Regions from separate parts of the Homo sapiens genome. Here region 1 is linked to region 2. The links are contacts of gene promoters, found by promoter capture Hi-C in human tissues and cell types (Jung and others, 2019). All regions are on one chromosome and are shown on one strand. The core of a region is centred on a gene start or on the middle of the fragment in contact, and the rest is flanking DNA. Distances in the headings are between cores, read along the strand shown. Region 1 overlaps AHI1-DT (AHI1 divergent transcript). Region 2 holds the start of MAP7 (microtubule associated protein 7).

Region 1 (5,476 bases), core at 1,718-4,217, 1.0 Mb before region 2:
TAGTGCTTTCTAAATATCTCCAGAATGCATTGATCTTTATTATTTCTTGATCTCTGTTGCGCTTTCTCAAGCCTTCACGACAGTGTATGTCTTCCCTGGATTACTGTGATGATCTCCTACTAGACTCCCTGCCCTCAATCATGCCTCTGTAATCTGTAGTGTGCATGGTTGTCAGCAACTCTGTTCATGGCCACCATACTTAAATTTTTAAATTTCTCATGTTTCAGAATAAGGAACCCTTTAACTTGACATATTAGGAAGACGCTTCATGACCTAATTCCTATGTAATCTTTCCAACATCATCTCTCACGGCTGTCCTGCCTTATACTAGATGTGTCAAATGATGCAATTACTTCATTTGTTTATCTACTTAGCAAATATTGACTAAGCATTCAACATTGTCAGGCACTGTTTAAGTGTTGCAATATAATGGTAATACTTTCAGTTTCTAGAATAAGTCCTGGGCCTTATCTCTTATCTCTGGGCCTGTGCATATGTTTTTCTCTCTCCCGGGAACTCTCCTCTTCCTTGAAAGTATAAATTCTGCTAAGTGCGCTACTGCCTTACTTCTGGTAAACCTTCTCTATTACCTAGGCTGAATTAGGTGACTTGCTGGGTCCCCTCAAAATACCCTTCTCTCTCATGCATTTATCATGCTACACCTTTCACTTCTCTGTCTGCTCCACTAGAGTATAAACTTCTTAAGGCAATATGCCTTTTTCATTTTTGTATTTCCAAGACTGTGCCTTGCATATTATAGATGTTATTTATGGGATATCCTCTGAAAAATCTCCAAGTGAGTCCTAAGATCCTAGACATTGCCTAGTAATAATTTTTCCTTCATGAGGTAGCAGATGGATCTAATCTATTTTTTATTTTATTATTATTATTATTATTATTTTGAGACAGAGTCTCGCTCTGTTGCCCAGGCTGGAGTGCAGTGGCACGATCTCCGCTCACTGCAAGCTCCGCCTCCCGGGTTCACGCCATTCTCCTGCCTCAGCCTCCCAAGTAGTTGGGACTACAGGCGCCTGCTACCACACCCGGCTAATTTTTTGTATTTTTAGTAAAGATGGGGTTTCACCATGTTAGCCAGGATGGTCTCGATCTCCTGACCTCATGATCCGCCCGCCTTGGACTCCCAAAGTGCTGGGATTACAAGCGTGAGCCACCGCGCCCGGTATTTTTTTATTGTTTTTAAAGTGACTTATGCAAAGGTGGCTATGCCTTTTTATAAAAGATTAGCACAAAGGGAGAATAATAACATTTGCAAATTATTTGCTTGAAGCTTTTATTTAGAAATCTGTTACATGTCCTTTTTTGATATATATATATATATATATATATATATATATATATATATCTCTATAGATCTGTAGCTAGATTAGGGAGAAATTTGGGCCTAAATTTGAACTTTTATACACCAATTAAAGCAAGTAGAATTTGTAATATATTTCACCACAGGCCACAATTTCTGCCCTGGAGAAGGGGTCAGATCGTGGTCTCCATCTAGGGGAGCAGTTACCTGATAGTCACATAAACTGCAGGTCAGGCCCCTCTGTGGTCTGCCCCTGTTCAGGTTGGATTTCCAAGAAAACAGGCTCTAAGGAGAAGGTTTGAATATGGAGATTTATTTAGGAAGGCTCTTGGGATCCATCCTTGGGGTGGGAGTGAACAGATGGGGATAGAGCGGAGTAAAAAAATACAGAATTGGGTGGAGGGAGAGAATGAATAACAACGCTGCCATAATAAACACCTCAACTAATCCTATGGGGAAGACTGGGGCTGGGATGACCCCAGCTTTGAGAGGCAAAGGGGGCTGTGCCTTTATGCTCCTGCACAGACCAGTCTCCCAACCCTACCCAACTGCAACTTGATGAATGAGGGCCCTTTCTTCAACTGTGGTCAATTCCCAAGAAGGGAATCAGATGAGTACTGGGGGAGTGCTATAGTTTGAGTGTACGTGTCCCTCCAAAATTCATATGTTGAAACCTAATCACCAAGGTGATGGTATTAGGAGGTGGGGACTCTGGGAGGTGATTAGGTCATGGGGGCTCCAGGTTTGTGAATGGAATTAATGCCCTTACACAAGAGACTTCAGAGATCTGCTTCCCCTTTCATCTCCTTCATCCCTTCCACCATATGGGGAAACAGAGTTCATCCAGTCCTCCATGTTAGGATGCAGCAACCAGGTATAATCTTGGAAGCAGAGACAGACCCTCACCAGACACAGTCTCCTGGGACCTTGATCTTGGACCTTCCAGCCTCTAAAACTGTAAGCAATAATTTTCTGTTATTTATAAATTACCCAGTGTAAAGTATTTTGTTGCAGTAGCAGGAATGGCCTAAGACATGTAGTGAGTGTTTCAGTTCTGAAACTGCAAGTAGAGATCCTGGTTGTGGACTCTAAGTTCCTAAACCTCCTCATCACTTATTGGGAAAGTCAGTTTTGGGGCTCAGGACCATTAGGAAAATTCAAGATTCCTGCCTCATTCAAATGGAGGGCTAAATGCAGGGTAGGAATAGCAAGAAGGTATTTTCTTTCAAGCCCATTTCCCTCTTCTTTCAGGCTGTTAAAACATGTTCACTTGTTCACCTGCTAGTGGCCATTGGCTCAGGGAAAGTGAATCAGATCCCTTGTTCAAGGGGATAAATTTAGTTACTCTTAGCCAATCATGGTGATTCTATTCTGCTTTTCAGAGACTGGTTTAACAAGAGTCATGTGATCTTTCTGGTCAATGAAAGATAAGGGGAAGCCAGCCTGGAGTTGCTTCAGAAAGGCTGCTCTTAAACAGAAACATATTTGAAGAAACAGTAACTTTATTCTGACTCTTTATGTGTGTGGCGGAGGAAGTGATGCCTAGAGCTACTACAGGCACTTAGGCCATGAGGAGAACCAGTGTAAGTCAGCAAGCCAAGATGCTAAAGACAGCAGAATAAGAAAATGGCAAGAATCTTGTCCTTGATGCTGTTGAGCTACTGAATTAACCAGGGCTGCAACTCCCTGTATTAGTAAGGATTCTCCAGAGGAACAGAACCAATAGAATGTATATATAAGTATATAATAAGGAATTAGCTCATGCAGTTACAGAGGCTGACAAATTCCAATATCTGCAGTTGGCAAGCTGGAGACTCAGGAGAACTGACGGTGTAGTCTAACGGCTAGCAGGCCCAAGAACCAGGAAAAGCTGATTAAAGTTCAAAGGCGGGAAAAAAAAACCCAATGTCCCAACTTGAAGGCATTTAGGCAGGAGGAATTCCCTCTTATTTATGAGACTGTCAGCCTTTTTGTTCTATTTAGGCTATCAATTGTTTTGATGAGGCCCACAACATTAGAAAGGGCAGTGTGCTTTGCTCAGTCTATCAATTTCAACGTTAAACTCATCCAGTATAATGTTTGATCAACTATCTGGGTATGCCATGGTTCAGTCAACTTGACACATAAAGTTAACCAATCGTCAAAACCCCCTACTTTTGGTTTCTTGATAAATAAAATAATATTTATCTTCTGTTTTAGTGGAATAAAGGTATGGAAAACGCTTTGATCAGTTTCTGTCTTTTGTTGATCTGGAATTGCAGTATCATTGTGATTAAAGAAACTAAAATACAGTGTAATTAGGGGATCACATCCAAATTTTGCAAACCCTTTGGTAATGTTTAGAATATATTTGATTAATTCATTTTCAATTCAACAAACACCTGTTAAATACTAACTATATGTCAGCTAGGTACATGTTATATGTCAATGAAAAAAAAAAGAAAAAATTCCCCTTGTGGGGCTGACATCTAGCATATAAACAAATGGTCAATTTTAATATAGTTTTGGGTTTATTTAAGCTTATTACAGAATAAAAAAATAGTGCCCCAAACTGACCACTCTTGCATAGCCATGCCCAGCAGCCAATACTACATAATGTCAACCTACAACACAGCACCATCAAGTTGTTACTCAAATGAGACCTAGGCTTGACGGGATGTTAGGAGGTCCATTTCTATCAATCAGAGTCTGGAGTTCATCCATCGCCCTAAGCCTGCTATTGAGGGAGCCCTATGTAAACATTTATGTGGCCACCAATAAATAGTAAGCCCCTCAATCCCAACCCTAACCTCACTGTGTTTCTAGATTCTTGCCTCTGTTCTTTGTTTGCACTTTATTCTTTGCTGGTAACGGATTCTAGCCCTGAACTCCAGCCAAATTGTCTGGGCCTACGAATTGACTAGTCTTGCCAACCTCTTCTCTCTGGGGGATCTGGATCCTATCCCAATTTTCTCCCCTCTGCAGCCCACTGGCTAAGGCCCTATTACAACCCAGACAACCTCTCCCATTCCGAACATAAAACTGTCATCTGTTGGATAATAACATTTCCCACATAACCAGTTCCTGGTGCCATGCTCCCACCTGGCTTGAGATGGTGACTGTCACCATTAATCTGGTTTGGATTCAGGTTTGGTATGTCCTGTTAGATGCTGAGACTTGGGGGAGCTTATAGTCATATACCTCAGACCTCCCCTATCCCCACCAGTCTTGGCTTACTTCTCTCTCTCCTACAGATCTACAGCTGGGGTTCTCTTCTGGCTCTCCTGCCAAGGCCAATCAGATCGCAATACAAAAAAGTAACACTTTCCAGCATTCTGTAGAGTCTGATTTTCTAAACAGTTCTTTAGATTTTAATGCATCTCAATAATAGTTATAAGTAACATTTTATTTTTTTCTGTGGCAGATTAGGCCTCCTGCAAAATAGTCATTTTCAAAAATTGTCTAAGATTCAGATGCCGCACCCAATGTTTATGCTTTTTGCAGCAATATGGTCCTAATTCAACATCATGCAGCGTGCAAATCAGTGTTTCTTCTAACTTCAACAGTGATAAATATTTATTAAGCCTCCACTATGTTCATGGAACTATACCAGGTGCTGCTATAACTATTTTTCCTTTCCAGGAAAAATAAATTCAAATATGGAATAAAAAGCCCAAACTCATGAAACTGGACTGACTTTGCTTCTTAAAAATTCAACATGCTGCAGCTGCATGCTTAAACCTGGTTCAAACAGGATGATGAAATAAAACATTATTATTGTGGGAATATAACACTGTCTAAATAAATAGCCAACATGAAAACTGTCTCTAAAACCCATAGCATCTGTATGTGCAGACTGTAAGTAAGTTATATAATTCCTCCACTATTCTGTAACATGGCCAATTCAGAATGTCTTACCATTAATCTTGAAGACATTTAAAGATGTTCACTTTTCTAACTCTTCCCTTTGAAAATATATTTGAACCTTATTTGCAATAAAAATCTCATAATATTGTATTACTTTTTGATGTGTCATTTCTGTTAAATGGTGCCTGGAATAAATCAGCTTTGACTTTTCAGATTACATGTGTTGTTCCAGAGTTTTAGTAGTTACAACATACATTTACATTTTCTAATGTCCTCACTATAATGAAGATAAACACAGGGGTAATTTTTCTC
Region 2 (5,906 bases), core at 2,293-4,792:
GTAAAAATATTTCACACAAGCCTATCAATATTACATAAATGCATGCTCCTGAGCACAATTGCCTAGTCTAATAATAACGTTTCCTCCTACTTAGCAAGATGTAAAGGTAACAGCCATATAGGATGGGAGAAAAGCTATCTAGCTATGTGAATGAAGCATCTCTTTCAAAGGGGACAAGCTTAATACCAAATTGACGTCTGAGCCCTTATTTAATTGCAGATATTTAATGTGGACCCTTAGAGTTAAGTGACACCTACAAGATCACTTTTTGATTTGGAAAAGTTCATGAAAGGATGGTCACGAAAGAGGCCATGTTCACCACACAGGTTGCTAAAATGGACAAAAAGCCCAATTCCAGATTCTAAGTCATGACCCACTTCCCAAAATATCAACAGAATTGACAGGTTATTGGCATTAACTTATTCCTTCGTGCATGAAAGCTTCATGAATTAATCAAAAGCAGCTTTAAATTTGCTTTTAGTTCAGGAGGTTTTTAAAACAGGCTATCAGACTAGGAAATTAGTGCTGTACACTCGCTTTCCACAGCTCTTGAACATGAACATAAAATTAAATATACAAAGCTTGGGTAGAGGCAGTTTTGTGAATATCACCCATCGTAGGTCGACTACTCAAAAAAGGCTGAAAAAGGACTTGACATCCTCTAGTGGTGATGTCTTAAACTTGTTTCCAAGGCAATTTTTTTTTTCCCAGCTCTTAACTTTGGCTGTTGGCAAGAAAAATATTATATTGGAAGAACTTTTCATCCTCAAGAAAAATAAATGTTTTCGCCACAAAGAATGTGATTTGACTAACTTTGAGAATATATACCCACAGAAATAGGGTTTTTAAATGTTGGGTTTATATAATAGCTTTCAATATGCTTAAGAACGGTCTCATTTCATAGGCCACACGCCACCACTGTCAATTCATCTTTGATACACATATACACACACACACACTCACACATATAATTCTGAACACATTACAGGTATCATTTTTATAATAACCTGATATTCTCATCTAAAGTGCCCTAAAATTAGACCAGTCTTTGTATAGAGACCCAAAAACTAAGAGTTATTTAAGAGTGGACTCTACCTCATAATAATGAGTTCTAAAAAGAAATAAAATTAATCCCTCAAGAAATGTTGCCATTTAAGGTGGCAATTTTCAACTCTTGATGGTAATAGTTTCTCTGTCCACGGCCACCCACCACCACCACCCCCCCCCACCCCCCCAACAATTCCATACAAACTTCTGATTGTTTAAAAAAATGAGACTTGCAGTATTTGGATGTGTATAATGTGAAATATGTTCACCAGAATGAAGTGCTAAATTAAAGTCTCATATTCAGATATAGGTCATGTGTTTTAAATATATGGAATAACTTAAGTTGTTGAAATTCAAACAATCTCACTTGTTCTCTCAAAATAACTACCACCTAGATTCAAAAAAATACATTTACACCTTCCTTCTTTCTTTGGCACCTGCTGACACAAATGCTTCTGAACACTAAAAACATTAATAGTAATCTTGGGGTAGAAAAATAGGAAAGAGATGCGGGGCCAGAATTAAGTTTTCAGTGAAATTATAAAGTATAATTATTCAAGACCATATATAAAAAATGTCCTTTGGAAAATGAAGTTTTTAGGCAAAAGTGTGGAAGAAATGTTTTCTATGAAGGAGATAACAGCCAATTTAACTCCCTTTTTAATAAAAGAAAATATTACACTGACAGGCACATGGTTGATTTGTATATTAATTGTTGGAAGCACGGCCTATTCCTTAACATGCTCAGGCACTGAATATCCTACAGTTTGTAGTCAGTTCACTTATGTCTGAACAAGTTGTTCACGTGCAGATTCTAGAAAGTTTATTTTTGAGCACAAACTAACACTTAGCTCGCTAGAACAATGTTGTTTCACATGCAGTTACTGGGTCAGGGTTAGGAACGAAAATCATGCCGTATATTTACAAATGAGGATGCTCCTCTCCCGGGGCCCTCACTTGGGGGAGCCCCGTCCCAGCGTCTAGCTCATCAAATTCCCGAAAGCAATTACAAAGGCATCTCTTCTCCACCCCAAAACAAAATAATGATCTACCAATCTTGCGAACACATTAAGACAAACTCCCTACAGGAAGGAGCATGACTTAAACAAGTTCAAGATACTTTGTCAGTCTTAACCTCAGGTATCTTGGCTGAAGGGATTAAATCATTAGACTTTACGTACCCAACCTCTTCCTAGCAATAGCAGATACATAATTTGCAAATACTGTTTCAGAGCTCTCTGGACCTTTCACGTTAAAATAAGCATACTTGATGGTGGGGAGACAGTGATTCTTACATTTAGGAAACAAATGCTTCCGATTGTGACCGTATGGAAGTGGAAAACAGCTTGCAATTGGAGAGTCTAAGAATTGAATTTCTTTTTAAAGTAAGAAACTGCCTCACTGCCCCCATCCCCAAGTGTAGGAAGATATAGAAACAGCTTACTGGCCAAGAATAGAAGAGGGAACCAGTGGAGAGGGACGGATTTGCAAGATAGCCTCTGGAGAAAAAAAAATCACGAGGGAGAAAAATCGGCTTCATACTATGGAGAGATGGGCGGGGTTGGGAAGCCTTGCTGCTGGTCTTGGGAAGCCTTGCTGCTGGTCTTGGGGACGTGATCCCCTGTCCCTAAGTGTGCCCCTGGAGGTTGTGGGGGAGGGGTATCCTCAACACAGAGGCCTGACCACCAAATCCCGGGCTGCAGAGCCAACAATCCTCCTTTGGGCTCCTGCACAGACTAAAAACAAAAAACTCTGAGAACTCCGACAAGTCAACGAAAGTCTGATCCCGTCAAGCCCGCACTCGCAAACCCCCACCGTGCTGCACTGGGCCCCGGCCCTCCCGAGCTCGGTCCCCTCGGACGACGGTCGTCGCCACTGCGGGCACCAGATTGGGGGGCGGGCCGCTCACCCCGCGGTCCTGCCCCACACCGACCCCGCTGAGGAGCCCCCGGCACCCGGGGCGACCAGGGAAGGCGGGAGGAGGTGCCCAGAAACTGCTCGTCCTGCCAGTCGCACCTGGCCGACGACTCTCTGGCCACTGGTTTGGTCTGGGGGATACGATTTCCCATTCAACTGAATTAGACCCGAGGCCGCGGCGGGGAGGGCAGCGGCCGGGGTCTCTCCGTTTCCTCCCCCGGCTCGCCTCCACCTGTTGCGGGAAAGTCGCGGTGGAGCGCCCGAGGGCGGCCGCAACCCCGGCCGGGGCCGAGCCGGGCTGGCCGAGCCGCGGCGGCGAAGGGCGGGGGAAGGCGCTCTCGGAGCAGGGTGCGCGGCGCGCAGGGCCGGTTGTTCCGGGCCGCGGCCGCGCGGGCGGGGAGGGGGCTGCCGGCGCCGGGTGATTTCGGTGCCAGCCCGCCGGCCCCGCTCGCCGTCCCCTGCCCGACGGGACCCCCACTATCCCCGCTGTGCGGTCACCTGTTTCGCTTCGCACTGCGCCGTCGCCGCCCCTGTGGCCGTCGCCGCCAGCTCCTAGCTCCGCCATGGTGCTCCGATGACGCGCCCGGAGAGCCGCTCCGCCCTTTCCTCGGCTTGGCTCCCGCCGGCCCCCGCCTCCCAGGCCAGCGGCCCAGACAGGTGAGCGCAGTCCGGGGATGGCGGAGGGCGGGGACAGAGAGCGCGGCAGTCGGCTGCGGCCTGGGCCTGGCGCGCCCCCTCGCGGGCAGGTGCGGCGTGGCAGCCGCTCCGACCGCCGCTGCCGAGTCTCGGCTGGAAGAGCGGCGGGCGGAACCAGTACCTCAGTCCGGAGCTTCCGGTCGCCGCGGCCGACCAGCTGAGGGCTCCCGGAGATATGGAGCGGGGTCAGCGAGGCCTGGTGGCGCCTCCTGGAGTCTGGGACGAGCGGCGGTCCGAGGAGCAGCCCAGGTGGGGCGAGGGTACGGAGACGCTATTTCCCTCCGAACTCTGAAGTAGCCAGGTCAGTGTCGGCTCCGCGAGGGCTGGAGTTCACGGTGACAGCCGGCAGAGCATCTGATGCCACGTGGAGAGGCGAAGTACATGGGTCGGATTCCACGCTGGGAGCCGGCCTGGATCTGCGCTTTAGGAAGCCACTGCGGGCGACCCTATCTTGTCGCCAGGACTTCGCATCTGATGAGCCTCAGGGCACACAAGTTAGAGAGGCTTGTGCCGGCTGATGTGGCTTTTCTTTTTCTTAGTTTCCGTTTAGTAAACGACCTTGTGACTTCTGGCTTGCTCAGGAAGACCAGAAAAAAAGGCAATAGGTAACGAATTTTTCTTTTTTTAAAGAAACAGATTATTGGCCGAGGAAAAACCAATTTCGCTCTAAAGGATAAGCAACAAAATACTGAGGGGGGAAAAAGCCTACACAAATGGAAACATACGGCACAAAATCAAGGAGCGACCAGTTCCGCATGGTTACACTAAAATGCACTGCACTCCCACTCTCTGGCTTGGCTGAAGATAACCAGCAAGCTCTGAACAGTTTAAAAGCCTTCCAAGGACTGCAGCAGCACTGGACACACAAGAGAGTCGAGAACAGTATTGGATTTATTGTTAGGGTTACAATTTTCACGATCTTTGCATGCAAAACTTGCCACTCTGAGCCCAGTGAACTATTTTTATTTGGTTTACTTACTGGCTTTCTGGATGACTAGGTAGAGCTTTAACTAAAGAACACTTCTGCTGTGGTCTGTGATGATGAATTTTCCCGTAGTGTCATTTCTATAATGGAATAGGCAAACTGACCATTTAGAATGTGATATTCCTAAATCACATTCAAATCAGTCTTATCAGAGACTTCTAATCAATAAAAATAAAGCACCAGATGGCTAGAGGTAGTTTTTGACCTCAGCTTGGGCCTCAGCAAAGATTTTTTGTGTTTTTTTTAACTACATTAAAACATCAGAGTTTAAGACACTTTTCTTTGAGCATCAGAAATACTCTCAGCTGAATTTAGAGTTGAACTATCCGGAAGAACCCTGGAGAAGGAGGGTGATTTATTTTCAACTTTCTGATTTACCACCGACTTAAATCAACCAATGAGTTCTTTCTTTGACCAAAAAAAAAAAAAAAAAAAAAAAAAAAAAAAAAAAAATTCAAGACTTGTGATGTTTCTATTTGTTTTGTTTTGTTTAGTTTGGTGTGTGCTTACTCATTGTCCCATTCTTTTGATAACCTGTATTTATCTGCCACAAGTTAAACAAAAATAAATGAAATAAGGAACACACCAAAATCCTGCACTTAGGCCCTGTATAGACAGTGTGTTCCAAACCTAAGGAGGTGTCTGCAACAGGGGAGGCTGCTGAGTGACTCTGCAGAGAACAGATGACATCTGTTAAATGTCAAACACCATCACGTCGTACTTCAAGTTGTACTTTACTTGGAACATGGAAGCCATCTGTCTGGAGCTCCCACATCCATTTCAAATCTTCAGGGTTCCCCATTCCAGGGGAGGAGCTGAACCTCCTGACACCGTCCACTTCCCTCCTGCCTCCTTCAAACATCATCCCTTTTTTCTCCCGAATCCCTAAATGTTTCTGCACCCAAGGGCTCTACCCCAATAAACACAGCTAAGACTCTTTGATTCTTAAAATGTCTTCCTTTAACGTCCCACCCTCCAGAATCTATTGTCGTATGTTTTGTTCACCAAAGGTAATAAAAATAAATGTGGATTTTGGTGCCGTTATTTTTCAAAAAAAGCTATATATTAATAGTTTTTCTTGCTTATGTATACAAATCAAATTACTTATTTTTAAATCCATCATTCCCCTAGAGTTTCTGCAGCACTTGATCCTCTAATCACCTTGCTCTTGGTCTACCATTGGCTTGGTTTTTCTCCTTCCTCTGTAGCAGTCCTTTCGTCTTTGTTGACTCAGATTCTTCCTCCCTTCTAATCCTCCAAT

The links. Contacts are between HindIII fragments. The study calls those that stand out against the background at their distance.
Region 1: a contact is called between a fragment that was not itself captured here and the fragment with the promoter of MAP7 in region 2, in 1 of the 25 tissues and cell types used here (ovary).

What each region holds. Positions count from the first base shown.
Region 1 is chr6:135,523,038-135,528,513 of GRCh38, forward strand. All of the region lies in intron 2 of AHI1-DT (AHI1 divergent transcript), which reads left to right. Among named protein-coding and RNA genes, the nearest start is that of AHI1-DT, 28 kb to the left of the region's middle. The HindIII fragment of the contact is 5,270 bases long and covers 333-5,476 here.
Region 2 is chr6:136,546,880-136,552,785 of GRCh38, forward strand. It overlaps MAP7 (microtubule associated protein 7), which reads right to left and starts at 3,543. Exons shown (of 18, transcript NM_003980.6): 1 at 3,463-3,543. The coding sequence starts at 3,529. It overlaps MAP7-AS1 (MAP7 antisense RNA 1), which reads right to left and starts at 5,626. Exons shown (of 1, transcript NR_186370.1): 1 at 3,844-5,626. RefSeq lists enhancers at 2,379-2,917, 3,456-3,993 and silencers at 3,215-3,264, 3,275-3,454, 3,495-3,844. The HindIII fragment of the contact is 8,644 bases long and covers 1-5,906 here.